Regions from separate parts of the Homo sapiens genome. Here region 2 is linked to region 1. The links are contacts of gene promoters, found by promoter capture Hi-C in blood cells and fetal thymus (Javierre and others, 2016). All regions are on one chromosome and are shown on one strand. Each heading gives the region's core, a stretch centred on a gene start or on the middle of the fragment in contact. The rest is flanking DNA. Distances are from core to core; before and after follow the strand shown. Region 1 holds the start of C1QBP (complement C1q binding protein). Region 2 overlaps AIPL1 (AIP like 1 HSP90 co-chaperone).

The links. The method cuts DNA at HindIII sites, captures the fragments that hold promoters and counts their contacts. A CHiCAGO score of 5 or more calls a contact.
Region 2: a contact is called between a fragment that was not itself captured here and the fragment with the promoter of C1QBP in region 1, in 4 of 17 cell types (M2 macrophages, M0 macrophages, endothelial precursors and 1 more). The highest score is 6.0, in M2 macrophages.

The regions. Positions count from the first base shown.
Region 1 is chr17:5,435,742-5,442,069 of GRCh38, reverse strand. C1QBP (complement C1q binding protein) reads left to right here and starts at 2,915. Exons shown (of 6, transcript NM_001212.4): 1 at 2,915-3,228; 2 at 3,797-3,947. The coding sequence starts at 2,997. DHX33 (DEAH-box helicase 33) reads left to right here. Exons shown (of 12, transcript NM_020162.4): 12 at 1-1,153. RefSeq lists an enhancer at 2,519-2,698 and silencers at 2,758-2,940, 2,919-3,088, 3,199-3,248. The HindIII fragment of the contact is 1,457 bases long and covers 2,351-3,807 here.
Region 2 is chr17:6,419,194-6,425,521 of GRCh38, reverse strand. It overlaps AIPL1 (AIP like 1 HSP90 co-chaperone), which reads left to right. Exons shown (of 6, transcript NM_014336.5): 6 at 1-1,784. The coding sequence ends at 62. Among named protein-coding and RNA genes, the nearest start is that of AIPL1, 13 kb to the left of the region's middle. The HindIII fragment of the contact is 7,641 bases long and covers 1-6,328 here.

The DNA.
Region 1 (6,328 bases), core at 1,666-4,165:
TAGAAAACTTAGCTGGGCATGGTGGCACACGCCTGTAATCCCAGCTACCGGGGAGGCTGAGGCACAAGAATTGCTTGAACTTGGGAGGCAGAGTTTGTAGTGAGCCAAGATCACGCCACTGCATTCCAGCCTGGCCGACAGTGTGAGACGGTCTCAGAAAAAAAAAGAAAGAAAGAAAGAAAAAGAAAAAACTTGGGGTAATTTATGTCCAGCTTAAGTACCTGAACAGTTTCCGGAAATGTATATTTTTTTTCTGAGAGGCAAAGGATGTAAACAGCTTCTAAGTAGCTTTAATGTTTCTGTACAGAAATAAGTTTATCCCTGTAACATTGTGGTAGAGTTTTAATACAGTATTTAGTTTTTTATTGGGCTTTTTTAAAAAGTTAACTTTTAACATAGCTGCTCAGGGATTAAATCAGATTGGAAAACCCATTCTGACTCCACATACTGCTACAAAGAAATACATCGTTGTTTATATTGAGCTGCAGGAGATAGTACACTTTAAACTTAAGAAAGTTAAATGTTTCACAATAACATTGCAATATAATCTTCAGCTACTCTCTTTCCATTGGTAAAATCTCTGATGGTGTGATAACTCTTTGCCAACCTACGAAACCCATATCTGGAAGAATCACCAGCTCCCGTGAGCAGCTTCATGTAAATAGATGCACTCCAAGCAGATTGCATGCCTCAGGTGTTTGTCTTCTAGTAATCATGGAGTGTGCAACACCCAGAGTAACACTACAAGGGGCAGGACTGCAAACAGCAGGTCCTGGCTAAAAACCCTTAATGCTGCATTGCTGCCAGTTGTAAAGAGATGCCTGAATGGAGGCAAGTTCTGCCCTGTGGGTGAAACTGATGATGTACTGTACTGTCATATATAAATCCACTAAATCCAGCTACCAGGAACTGCCTGGAACTGTGGCCATGCATTTTTTTTTTTCTTTAAAGACCAGTGTGATAGTAGGCCATGCATCTGAGATACGATATTCCTTGGTAACTAGAGGGAGAAAAAAAAATCAAGTAGGTTCAGGCTTATGTTGTATTTTGAGAGTCTGGTTTTATTTGAACAGAAATAACTCTACAGAAAGCTCTTGTAAATAATGCTCAAATTTGCACCCGACGATCAAATCCATTAAAAATGAATCTTGTATATGATGTGTGTGGCTTGTTTCTTGCATCTCTTTTCCATTATTCATAGAAAATTATTTAGAAAATATTAAGTGTTAGTCTTACCATGAGTTAGTAAGACATACCTTCTTAGTAGCTTATATGTCCTGTATATCCTGGGAAGGTAGGATTGTTGATTTTTAATAAATCTGAACCCTGTCTTTGGGTTATATTAATTTACTGGAGAAACTCACAGAACTCAGGGAAACACATTTACCGGTTTCATACAAAAGATATGACCAAGGATACAGATAAGGAGATGAGCAGGGTGGGGAATGGGGAAGAAGCTCCCAGCCTCCATGCCGTCCCTGGACCACCACCCTCCAGGAACCTCCATGTATTTAGCTATCAGAGGCTCTCCAAACCCTGTCCTCGGGTTTTTATGGAAGCCTCTGGACTTATCTAAATGATATAAGCTGGCTTCTTGTCCCCAGAAAAATGATGTTCCATTAGAACTTGGATGCAAGGTTGGAGGTGCAGAGAGGGAAGGTCACAAAAATTAATCATGGATCCTGCCCTTGAGGATGTCACAGTCTGGTTGGGTTTAACCTGGTTAAAGCAGCAACGCTAGGAGGTTCCTGTTGAAAAGAGAATGAAGCATATGGGCTGGGTGCGCACAAGCATGAGTTCCGAGCCGGTGGAAAAAAAGGTTCTAGAAGGCCTCTTTCAGGAAAACCCTCAGACTTTCCTTTGCTCTCACAACACAACAATCAACACAGAAGACTTATGTGGCCAAAGGTTTGGGTTTTTCCCCTCCACACTAAGCAGCAGACACCAGCTGGGTGTCCTCCAATTCAATCCCAACAGTATCTACCTGGAGATAGTGTCAGATCCCATAGGTTGAGGGCTCAGTCCCCAAGACCGCCCCCACCTTCAGACAGCAATGGCAAGTCTGGGCCTCTGAAACTTCCGACCAACCCGCTTCAAGTTGGGGTTCCCACGACCCCCCTCTTTGGATTATGTTAACTCACTGGAGCAGTTCACAGAACTCAGGGAAACACATTCACCGGTTTCATATAAAGGATATGACCAAGGATACAGATGAGATGAGCAGGGTGGGGAATGGGGAAGAAGCTCCGAGGTTCCTTGCCTACCCTGGGCCACCACCCTCCAGGAACCTCTACGTATTCAGCTGTCAGAGGCTCTGCAAACCCTCTCCTCTTGGGTTTTTATGGAAGCTTCTGGACATCAGCATCCCTTCCCCCAGGGTATATGGTGGGACCTTCTCTGGGAAGGGACTTAAGACCCATAATCAGAAATGTGGAAGGAGATTAGAGTCCTGCTTTGGGGCAGGTAAAAGGAGGGCAGGAGAAGGGGAGAGTCTGTTTCCTGAGGCCTAACACACCCAACATTATCACAGAACATTGTAACAAGGGCTATAGGAGTTACGACCCAGGAACTGTGGATGAAAACCAATACATATATATATCATAACACCACAGCCTCCTAGAGGAAAGTGACCGTGGAAGGGTCTGGTGAGAGCTGGCGGGAGACAAGAGTGCATTCCACGCAGCCCAAAAGCCTTGCGTGCTTTGAGAACAGCAGGTGGAAAGTGGGTAAGCGGCCACTAGAGGGAATTAAACAGCTTCGGACAGCGGACTCGGCAGCGCAGCAAGAAAGCTCCGGAATCCGGATTCGAGGCTTCCCGGGCTGCACCGGAGTCTCCAGCAGAGGGCGCGATTCCGCCCGCTGGCCTTAGGTCGTCAGAGCGCCGGCGCGGGAAGCGCTTCCGGGCAGGGGCGGGGCTTCCGGCGGCGCCTCAGGTCGCGGGGCGCCTAGGCCTGGGTTGTCCTTTGCATCTGCACGTGTTCGCAGTCGTTTCCGCGATGCTGCCTCTGCTGCGCTGCGTGCCCCGTGTGCTGGGCTCCTCCGTCGCCGGCCTCCGCGCTGCCGCGCCCGCCTCGCCTTTCCGGCAGCTCCTGCAGCCGGCACCCCGGCTGTGCACCCGGCCCTTCGGGCTGCTCAGCGTGCGCGCAGGTTCCGAGCGGCGGCCGGGCCTCCTGCGGCCTCGCGGACCCTGCGCCTGTGGCTGTGGCTGCGGCTCGCTGCACACCGACGGTGAGGTTTAGCGGGCCGGGGGTGTGGTTTGCGTTCAACAGAGGGAAAACGTAGACCAGGAATAGGGCCTGCAACCGACCTCTGAGGTCTGGGACATTTTTCCATTGATTGGCAACCAGCGGGCTAAACCCACGTATGATCATATTTCCCCCACCTCCCCTATCCAGCAGTTTCGTTTTCTTTTGGTAGGGGGTGAATAAAATTAAATACTAGGGTACCTTTTTCCTTAGTCTTATTCTATCGAAAGTGGACCTTTGGGAAGGCCCATGGTCGTGGTTGAAAATAGCATAGTTATATCGTTTGGCAAGTGGAAGAGGATTGGAAATTCTCCTGGTTTATAGCGGAAAGTGGTAATGCGTTCATTGTTGGAAATCACTTTTCCAGAATCAGGCTCAGCTTCCTACTACTATTATGGTATTTTTACCGATAAGGAAACAGGCTTCTAGAGTAACCGTAATAGCAGAGAGATTAGAAACAGTCCAGGTTTCTGGCTGCAATAACCTGGGTAATAGTTTTATGTTTTAGACTAACTGGCTTTCCTTTTTATGTATCTGGATTTCTTTTCTAGGAGACAAAGCTTTTGTTGATTTCCTGAGTGATGAAATTAAGGAGGAAAGAAAAATTCAGAAGCATAAAACCCTCCCTAAGATGTCTGGAGGTTGGGAGCTGGAACTGAATGGGACAGAAGCGAAATTAGTGCGGAAAGTTGCCGGGGAAAAGTAAGTACTGGTCTGGGGATCCCAGGGCAGCAACTCCCTTAACCTTGCAGGACCCATCCTGGGTCATCCCCAGAAGAGCCTTGAGTTCAGGTGTGGATACTTTGATAAATGGGTTTCAAGAGAGTGAAGGATTCATTTGGACAACTTCGTAAGCCCCAGGCAGTCCATTCACCGAACACAAATTTGCTGTGGGCTGGTTACTAAGGAGACAAAAATGTAGTGCAAAAAAGTACTGGCAGAATCAGTTTGATCTCTGATTTACAGCCCTGATAAAATAGGACACTGCTCTCTAATGTTTAGTATGGGTGAAAATGAAAAATATGTAACTTCTATGTAACAGGATGGGGTTACACTGTAGTAAGGGCTGCCATCAGAGGTGGGGAGTTTGTGACCTAAGTCAGCTCCCCCATCATCTCCTAAACTGTTAAAGTGTTTACACTTTTCTGCATTATAGTCATCCATAATCTCATTACACAGATAAACATTTGGCATCTTCCAGGTTTTTAAATTGAGCCTGGGCGCGGTGGCTCACACCCATAATCCCAGCACTTTGGGACGGGCAGATCATGAGGTCAGGAGAAAATCCTGGCTAACACTAAAACCCTGGCTCTAGTAAAAATTAACCGGGTATGGTGGCACGTGCCTGTAGTCCCAGCTACTCGGGAGGCTGAGGCAGGGGAATCGCTTGAACCTGGGAGGTGGAGGTTGCAGTGAGTCGAGATCGCGCCACCGCGCTCCAGCCTGGGCAACAGAGCAAGACGCCATCTCAATAATAAATAAATAAATTGAATTTCCTTCATAATTGACCTTATGATGTGTATGTAATTTTTTTAAATCACAGCTTTTATGAGATTTAATTGAGATGGCATACGATTTACCCATTTATTGAAGTTTATTAAATTAAGTGGTTCTTAGTCCTCGCAGAATTATGCATCAGTTATCACTACCTAATTCTAGAACACTGTTGTCATCCCCAAACAATACCTATTAGCAGTCACTCATTATTCCTCCCTGTAGCCACCCCAGGTAATCACTAAGCTACTTTCTCTATGGGATTGCCTCTTTTGGACATTTCATATAAATGGAGTCATACAATTTGTAGCTTCCCCCCCCAACCCCACGGAGTCTTGCTCTGTCACCCAGGATGGAGTGCAGTGGTGCGATCTTGGCTCACTGCAACCTCTGCCTCCCAGGTTCTGACAATTCTCCTGCCTCAGCCTCCTTAGCTGGGATTACAGGCGTGCGTCCGGTTAATTTTTGTATTTTTAGTAGAGACAGGGTTTCACCGTGTTGGCCAGGCTGGTCTCAAAGTCCTGACCTCGTGATCCGCCCGCCTTGGCCTCCCAAAGTGCTGGGATTTCAGGTGTGAGCCACCCTGCCCACCCTATTTACCTTTTTAATTGTTGGGTTGTAAAAGTTAAGTTTTTCTGGGTACAACTATCTTATCAAATTAATGATTTGTAAGTACTGTTTCCCATCTTGTGGGTTTCCTTTTCACTTTCTTGGTAATGTCCTCTGACACAAAAGTTTTTAATTTTGAGGAAGTTCAGTTTACCTATTTTTTTGGTCGCTTGTGCTTTTTTATTTATTTTTTACTTTGCTTCTAATTCACCAAGTGCAACTTGTGCTTTTTTAGTGTCACGTCTAAGAAACCACTGCCTAACCCAAGGTTGTGAAGATGTATGCCTTAATTTTTTCAAAGTTTTCTAGTTTTAGCTCTTAGTTTAGGTCTGTGATTCATTTTGAATATGGTGTGAAGTAGGGTCCTGATTCTCTTGCCTGTTGCATAGTGTGTTTTTGCCCTACACAGGTCAATTGTGTCTTCTGTAATCTCACCTAAACACCATTTGCGCAAGGTTTTCATAGCTATTTGGGGGCCATTAAAAATAATGCTCTGATGAACGTCATTCAATTTCTGTGCCCAGGAGCTCAGCTTAGTCAGCACAGTTGGAATTAGACAGATTTTGTCAACCTCAGACTGCCTCTGTTGCCATGGAAAGGTGGCTTCCTGGCAGAGCAGCTAGTTAGCACAAGTGGAGGGCGGCACTTCATGTACTCTTTTTTTTTTTTTTTTTTTTCTGACAGAGTCTTGCTGTGTCTCCAGGCTGGAGAGCAGTGGCGTGATCTCGGCTCACTGCAACCTCCACCTCCCAGGTTCAAGCAATTCTCCTGCCTCAGCCTCCTGAGTAGCTGGGATTACAGGCGCGTACCACCACGCCCAGCTAATTTTTTTTTTTTTTTTTTTTTTGTATTTTTTAGTAGAGATGGAGTTTCATCGTGTTGGCCAGGATGGTCTCGATCTCTTGACCTCGTGATCTGCCCACCTCGGCCTCCCAAAGTGCTGGGATTACAGGCGTGAGCCACTGCGCCCAGCCTTCATG
Region 2 (6,328 bases), core at 1,720-4,219, 980 kb before region 1:
GGCCCCCTGCAGAGCCAGCCACAGAGCCACCCCCGTCCCCAGGGCACTCGCTGCAGCACTGAGCCCCCTGAGGCCCACAGCCACCCAGGCAGGGAGCAAGTGGCCTGGTCACTTCTGGTTCGATTGACCAGGATCGTGGTGTCACTTTTTAAAATTTAAAATTAATTTTTGAAATCAAAGTCAGACACACCCATGGTAAAAAAAAAAAAAAAAACAATCCCAAGGGTACAGAAGAGCTTATGAATAAAAGTAGTTTTCTCCTCTACCCCTCTCATTCCTTCCGTGCCATGGTTTTAATTGACCCTGTTTTTAATTCTTCTGGTAGTTTTCTCTATTTCCAAGTAATCTGTTTAAATCAGTTTCTAGATTTTACCCCATGTCAATGACAAATGAGGATTTGATGCTCTGATCCTTTCTCATGCCTGATACCCCTCCCTGTCTCCCCATTTTGGATAGTTACATTTGGGGGTCATCTCGGTGATTTTTGTAACTTTACGCAGGACACTTAGAGCTCTCTAGAATCCCACTGACTTTAGTGGGTCTTGATGTAGGGTGGGCAAGCCCCGACACTGGAGCTTAGCCTGAGAGGGTTCTTGGCCTCCCCCAGGAAAGATTTCAAAGGCAAGCGCCAGTGGTAGGGTAGAAGAAAACAGCTGTGGTCGGGCACGGTGGCTCACGCCTATAATCCCAGCACTTTGGGAGGCCGAGGCGGGTGGATCACCTGAGGTCAGGAGTTCCAGACCAGCCTGGCCAACATGGTGAAACCTCATCTCTACTAAAAATACAAAAAAACTAGCTGGGCGTGGTGGCGGGCGCCTATAATCCCAGCTACTTGGGAGGCTGAGGCAGGAGAATTGATTGAACCTGGGAGGCGGAGGTTGCAGTGAGCCAAGATCACGTCATTGCACTCCAGCCTGGTCAACAAGAGTAAAACTTCATCTCAAAAAACAAAACAAAACAAAAACAACAACAAAAAACAAAAGAAAAACAAACAAAACCAAAACCAAAACAGCTGTATTGAAGCTGCAGTGTTGCAGCTCTGTGACTGCCCTGCAGAGCAGGGCTACCCCATAGGCAGCGAGCAGCAGCTCAGGGCAGTTCTGCAGTCAGATTTATACCCACTTTTAATTACATGTAGATTAAGGAGCTGCATATACAAAGATTTCTAGGGAAGGAGTAGTAACTTCTGGGTCCTGGGGTCTTTGCCACGGAACAGGGCAGTATGCCAGGGTGTTGCCACGGCAATGGTAAACTGACATGGCACCCTGGGGGTCATGCCTTAGGGAAAGCCGCTTCCACTCGCCCCTGTTTTAGCTCATCTTCAAGTTAGTCTGGTGTCCAAGCTCCACCGCCTGCCTCAGTCTGGTGACCTCCTTCTGTGTCTGATGAGCATGGCAGCGTTGGGACCTTCCCCTTCCAACTCTCTCCCTCCTCTTCGTCCTCCCTAAAGGACGGGTACGAGGAGGGGCTATCACGCCAGCGACATCCTCTAGCACCACCCAGGTGTGTGGGGTGGGGCAGGGGGGCGACGAAGTATCCAGCCCAGGGCCACGTAGTCAACTGCCAAGGGCTTCCTGGGCTTCTCTTCTGCCCCAGAGCTTGTCTCCACCCAGCAGGGGTTCCCCCAGCGCTAACTGTATCCCTAAAGTTCTGATGTACTTTACTTTTCCATCTTCCTTGTTGTTAACATCTACCTTCTGCTCTGTAAGCAAAACTAAATCTTCTGTGCTTTGTCCATAGGTTGATTCTACAATCTGAAAATCAATAAACAGCATTTGCATGATTGTGGCTGTGTAGGTGTGTTTCCCCACAGGGCCCAGCGCAATGCTTCCACTGCATTGCTTTCTCTGTGGTTCCAATTTCGTGACCCCTGGGACACCAGAATGAGGATATTTCTGGCATCTGGAGTGATAATGTACATTTTAACATGGCAGTGTTTTATGTTTTTCTTCTCTTCTCCTCTTCCTTTTTTCTTTTTCATTTTTTTTTTGAGATGGAGTCTCACTCTGTTGCCCAGGCTGGAATGCACTGGCTTGATCTCGGCTCACTGCAACCTCCAACCTCCACCTCCCAGGTTCAAGCAATTCTCGTGCCTCAGCCTCCTGAGTAGCTGGGATTACAGGTGTGTGCCACTGTGCCTGGCTAATTTTTTGTATTTTTAGTAGAGACGGGGTTTCACCATGTTGGCCAGCTGCTCTCGAACTCCTGACCTCTGGTGATCTGCCCACCTCGGCCTCCCAAAGTGTTGGGATTACAGGCGTGAGCCACCGCGCCCGGCCTCTTCTTCCTTTTTTCTTGCAGTACTAGAAGGTTTGATGTGTAAGCCTTCCCACCCTTGAAGAAAAGGGGTTTCAATTTTTGGATGATTAGGCTCAGTAGTCCAGTGGGCCATAGTATGAAGGAACCACGTGAGAGAGGAGATTTTAGAAGAGGTCAGAGGAAGGGGATGTTATGGCCTGCAGAGGGAGCAAGGCAGGTGTGTCCTGAGGCCAAAGCGAGTGCCTCGAACTGCAGAAGGTGGAACAGGGAGGGAGGCTGGGGCCAGAGAGCCAAGGGGACCTTCACTGCTGCCTCCTGGCAGCGCTGCCTACGGGGAAAGGCCTGGATGTTGTCTGGGCAGCCAGAGTCGAGTGTGGCTCAGAAACAGATGAGGGGCCTGGCAAGGGGCATTACTTCGGGGCCAGGGACTGTGGCTCGCAGACTTCCCAGTCTCCTTTGCCCTGTCCATTGTCTGAATGTAGCTATCCTACCAGCTACCCTTTCTTTTGGGGACAACGAGCAGCGAGGGTGCCCCCCTCATTTGTGGTGAGAACGTGGCCTGTGGGCTCCCTGGCTGGACAGAGGCCCGAATGCAGCCTATGCTCGGGCTTGGTCCTGTCCGGCTCATCCCGTGTGGACAGCTCCCCTTCTGATGCCTCTGGATGTCTGAAAACAGGAAAAAGGGGATAGGGACCAGGAAGCCCATAGCATGTGGTGGAGATACCCTGGAGAGAGGGTGCACAGGGACCCTTGTCCTATTGTTACAATCCTCTGAAGGCAGAGGCTGGGCCAGTAGAACCACTGTTCAGAAACTGCCGCATCCCACACCCCATCTTCCTAGTGCAGAGGAGGCGGGAGGCAGACATGGGGAGAGATGCAGGCAGCCTCCCATCCAGGGCTCTGGTTGCTGCATGGGCTTCCTTCTGCTCCCTGAAAACCAACCTAAAGGAAGGGCGTGGCTGGTCAGGTCTGGGCGGGCAGTTGCAATAGTTTGCAGGGCCTCTCTTCCAAGGGCTTCTTTCCCGGAGATCCAGCCGGAAGGCTTTGTTTTCAAGTTGCCAGCAGGTGGCAGCAGAGACCAAGCAGACGGGTCCCCAGGGTAGGAGATGGCCGCTTTGGGCTCCGGATGTGGCGGTTCTCCATCAGCCCTGACCATCCCTGACGCTGCAGGTCACAAGGTCAGGCAAGCTGATGACAGGAAAGGAGGCATTTAGAACTATGGAATGAGGCTGCCAGCAAACTAGGTCCTTGGAGGCAACTCAGTCCCAACCCCTTGTACAGATGGGGAAACTGAGGCTTAGAGAGGGGCAGTAGCTCCAGGATTAGCATCAGGTTTCCAGGAGTCTGGGCTGGGGCTTTCTTTTCTTTTCTTTTCTTTTCTTTTCTTTTCTTTTCTTTTCTTTTCTTTTTTTTCTTTTCTTTTCTTTTCTATACTGTGCTGCCTCCTTCACTGGATGCTTCGTATGTGGGTATGATGCATTTTTTTTTAAAAAAGGAGAGAATGTGAAACTTCTATCAGGCAGCAACCTGCGGCAATGCCAATAGCCTTTGTTTGGGAGCAGTTGGAAGGGTCAGCACGAAACGACCTTGTGTGGGTTTTGAAGCCCCCTTTGGCCTGGCACGTCCTCAGGAATCATTACTAGTTAACCAAACCAAGGCATTTGCTCCCAGGCAGGAGCCACCATACTGACCTCTGGAGTTGACAGACACCCTGAGACCAGGGAGTCCTTTGGGTCAGCAGTAAGGGGCTGAGTGGCCCGAGGGACACCCCCTTCCTCGGGTATTGTGCAGGGGCAATAGTTTCCCATGGTGGATGCAGCAAATTACCACAAACTTAATGGCTTAAAACAACACACACGTATTCTCTTATAGTTCCAGAGGTCAGGGATTCTAAAACGGGTTGGCAGGCAGGGCTGTGTTCTTTCCAGAGGCCGGAGGAGAGAGTCCATTTTCTTTCCTGCCTATTTCAGCTTTTAGAGGCTGCCTGTATTCCTTGCCTTGTGGCCCCTTCAAAGGCAGCAATGGAGCATCTTCCACTCTGCGTCCCTCTGCTTCCGTCACCATGAGGCTTCTGCGGGTCCCTGACCCTCCTGTCTCCCTCTTATAAGGACCCTTGTGCTTACATTGCCCCCACCTGCCAGGTAATCCAGGCTCACCTCCCCACCTCAAGGCCCTTAATGTAATAATCACAGCTGCAAAATTCCTTTGCCTTAGAAAGTAACCTGCTGGGCGCGGTGGCTCACGCCTGTAATCCCAGCACTTTGGGAGGCTTAGGTGGGTGGATCTCTTGAGGTCAGGAAATCGAGACCAGCCTGACCAACATGGTGAAACCCTGTCTCTACTAAAAATACAAAAATTAGCTGGGGGTGGTGGCACGTGCCTGTAAATCCAGCTACTGGGGAGGCTGAGGCAGGAGAATTGCTTGAACCCGGGAGGCGGAGGTTGCAGTGAGTCGAGATTGTGCCATTGCACTCCAGCCTGGGTGAAGAAGCAAGACTCCGTCTCAAAAAAAAAAAAAAAAAAGTAACCTATCCACAGGCTCTGGGGATTCAAATGTGGGCATCTTTCAGGGGGTTCATTATACTGCCGCTTAGTCTCTGTGGGTCTCCGATCTGTCCTCTGCCTCGCTGGTGGGTGCCCTAGAGGCTCAGCCTACATATGTCCCGGCTCCCGTGCCCTCTGCCTTCCCGTTGGGTTTGGCCGGCAGGAGGCAGCAGCAGGAGACCTGCTTGCGGGAGGAGGGCACTGGGCTGTTTGCTTTTCTGATTCCCTCCTCGCTGGGCTGCAGTCTGGCAGGGGTTGCGCTCTTTACCTGTGGTCACAGCAGGTGTCCCCGGCCACGGCTCTCACTGGTCTCCAAGCAGTGCCTCCCCAGGTCCTGCAGCCTCAGCACAGCAATGGCTTCCCACCCCTGCTCGTTCTTGCTAGCTCCCCCCATTCCTTACTGGCTTCTCAATCCCTCCCGCATCTTCATTCTGCTTCTGTGGCTACTCTGTTTGCATAAGCCACCTGTTGGCTGCCAAGACCCTGCCTGAGCAGGTATCACATCTCCACCAGGATGCAGGGAGCAGAGGAGAGCCGAGGAGGCTGAGAACACACACAGTGTCTCCAGCTCCTCAGGGGTGTGGGCAGAATTTGAACTTAAGCCCAGATGCCACAAATGGGTATTAGAGCTGGCATTTTCCAGCCCCTGGGACACGGCTGCCTCCCACAGCCTCAGTTGATGCCCTCCATGGCAGGGCCACCTGCTGGGAGAAGGTCTAACCAGAAGTGACATCTAAGGGCCTGGCCTGCATCTGGAGTTGCAAACGTGGCAAAGGAATACAGCACAGGTGCAGGTGTTGCTTGTCCTGGGGCCAAGGCGCCTCCCTGTCTGTGAGAAATGGCCAGGCAACCTCAGTCAGATTTTTTTTTTCTTTTTTAAAAAATTTTACTTTAAATTCTGGGATACATGTGCAGAATGTGCAGGTTTGTTACACAGGTATACATTACATGTGCCGTGGTAGTTTGCTGCTCCTATCAACCTGTCATTTAGGTTTTAAGGCCCGCATGCATTAGGTATTTCTCCTAATGCTCTCCCACCCCTTTCCCCCCATCCCCTGACAGGCCCTGATATGTGATGTTCCCCTCCCTGTGTCCATGTATTCTCATTTTACTTTCTCTCTTTCTTTTTTATTTTTTTGGAAACGGAGTCTCACTCTGTTGCCAGGCGGGAGTGCAGTGGCGTAATCCCGGCTCACTGCAACCTCCGCCTCCCGGGTTCAAGTGATTCTCCTGCCTCAGCCTCCTGAGTAGCTGAGATTATAGGCACGTGCCACCATGCCCGGCTAATTTTTATATTTTTAGTAGAGACAGGGTTTCACCATGTTGGCCAGGATGGTCTTGATCTCTTGATCTTGTGATCCACCCGCCTTGGCCTCCCAAAGCGCTGGGATTACAAGTGTGAGCCACCACGCCCAGCCCATGTATTCTCATTTTTCAACTCCCACTTATAAGTGAGAACATTCAGTGTTTGGTTTTCTGTTCCTGTGTTAGTTTGCTGAGAATGATGTTTTCCAGCTTCATTCAT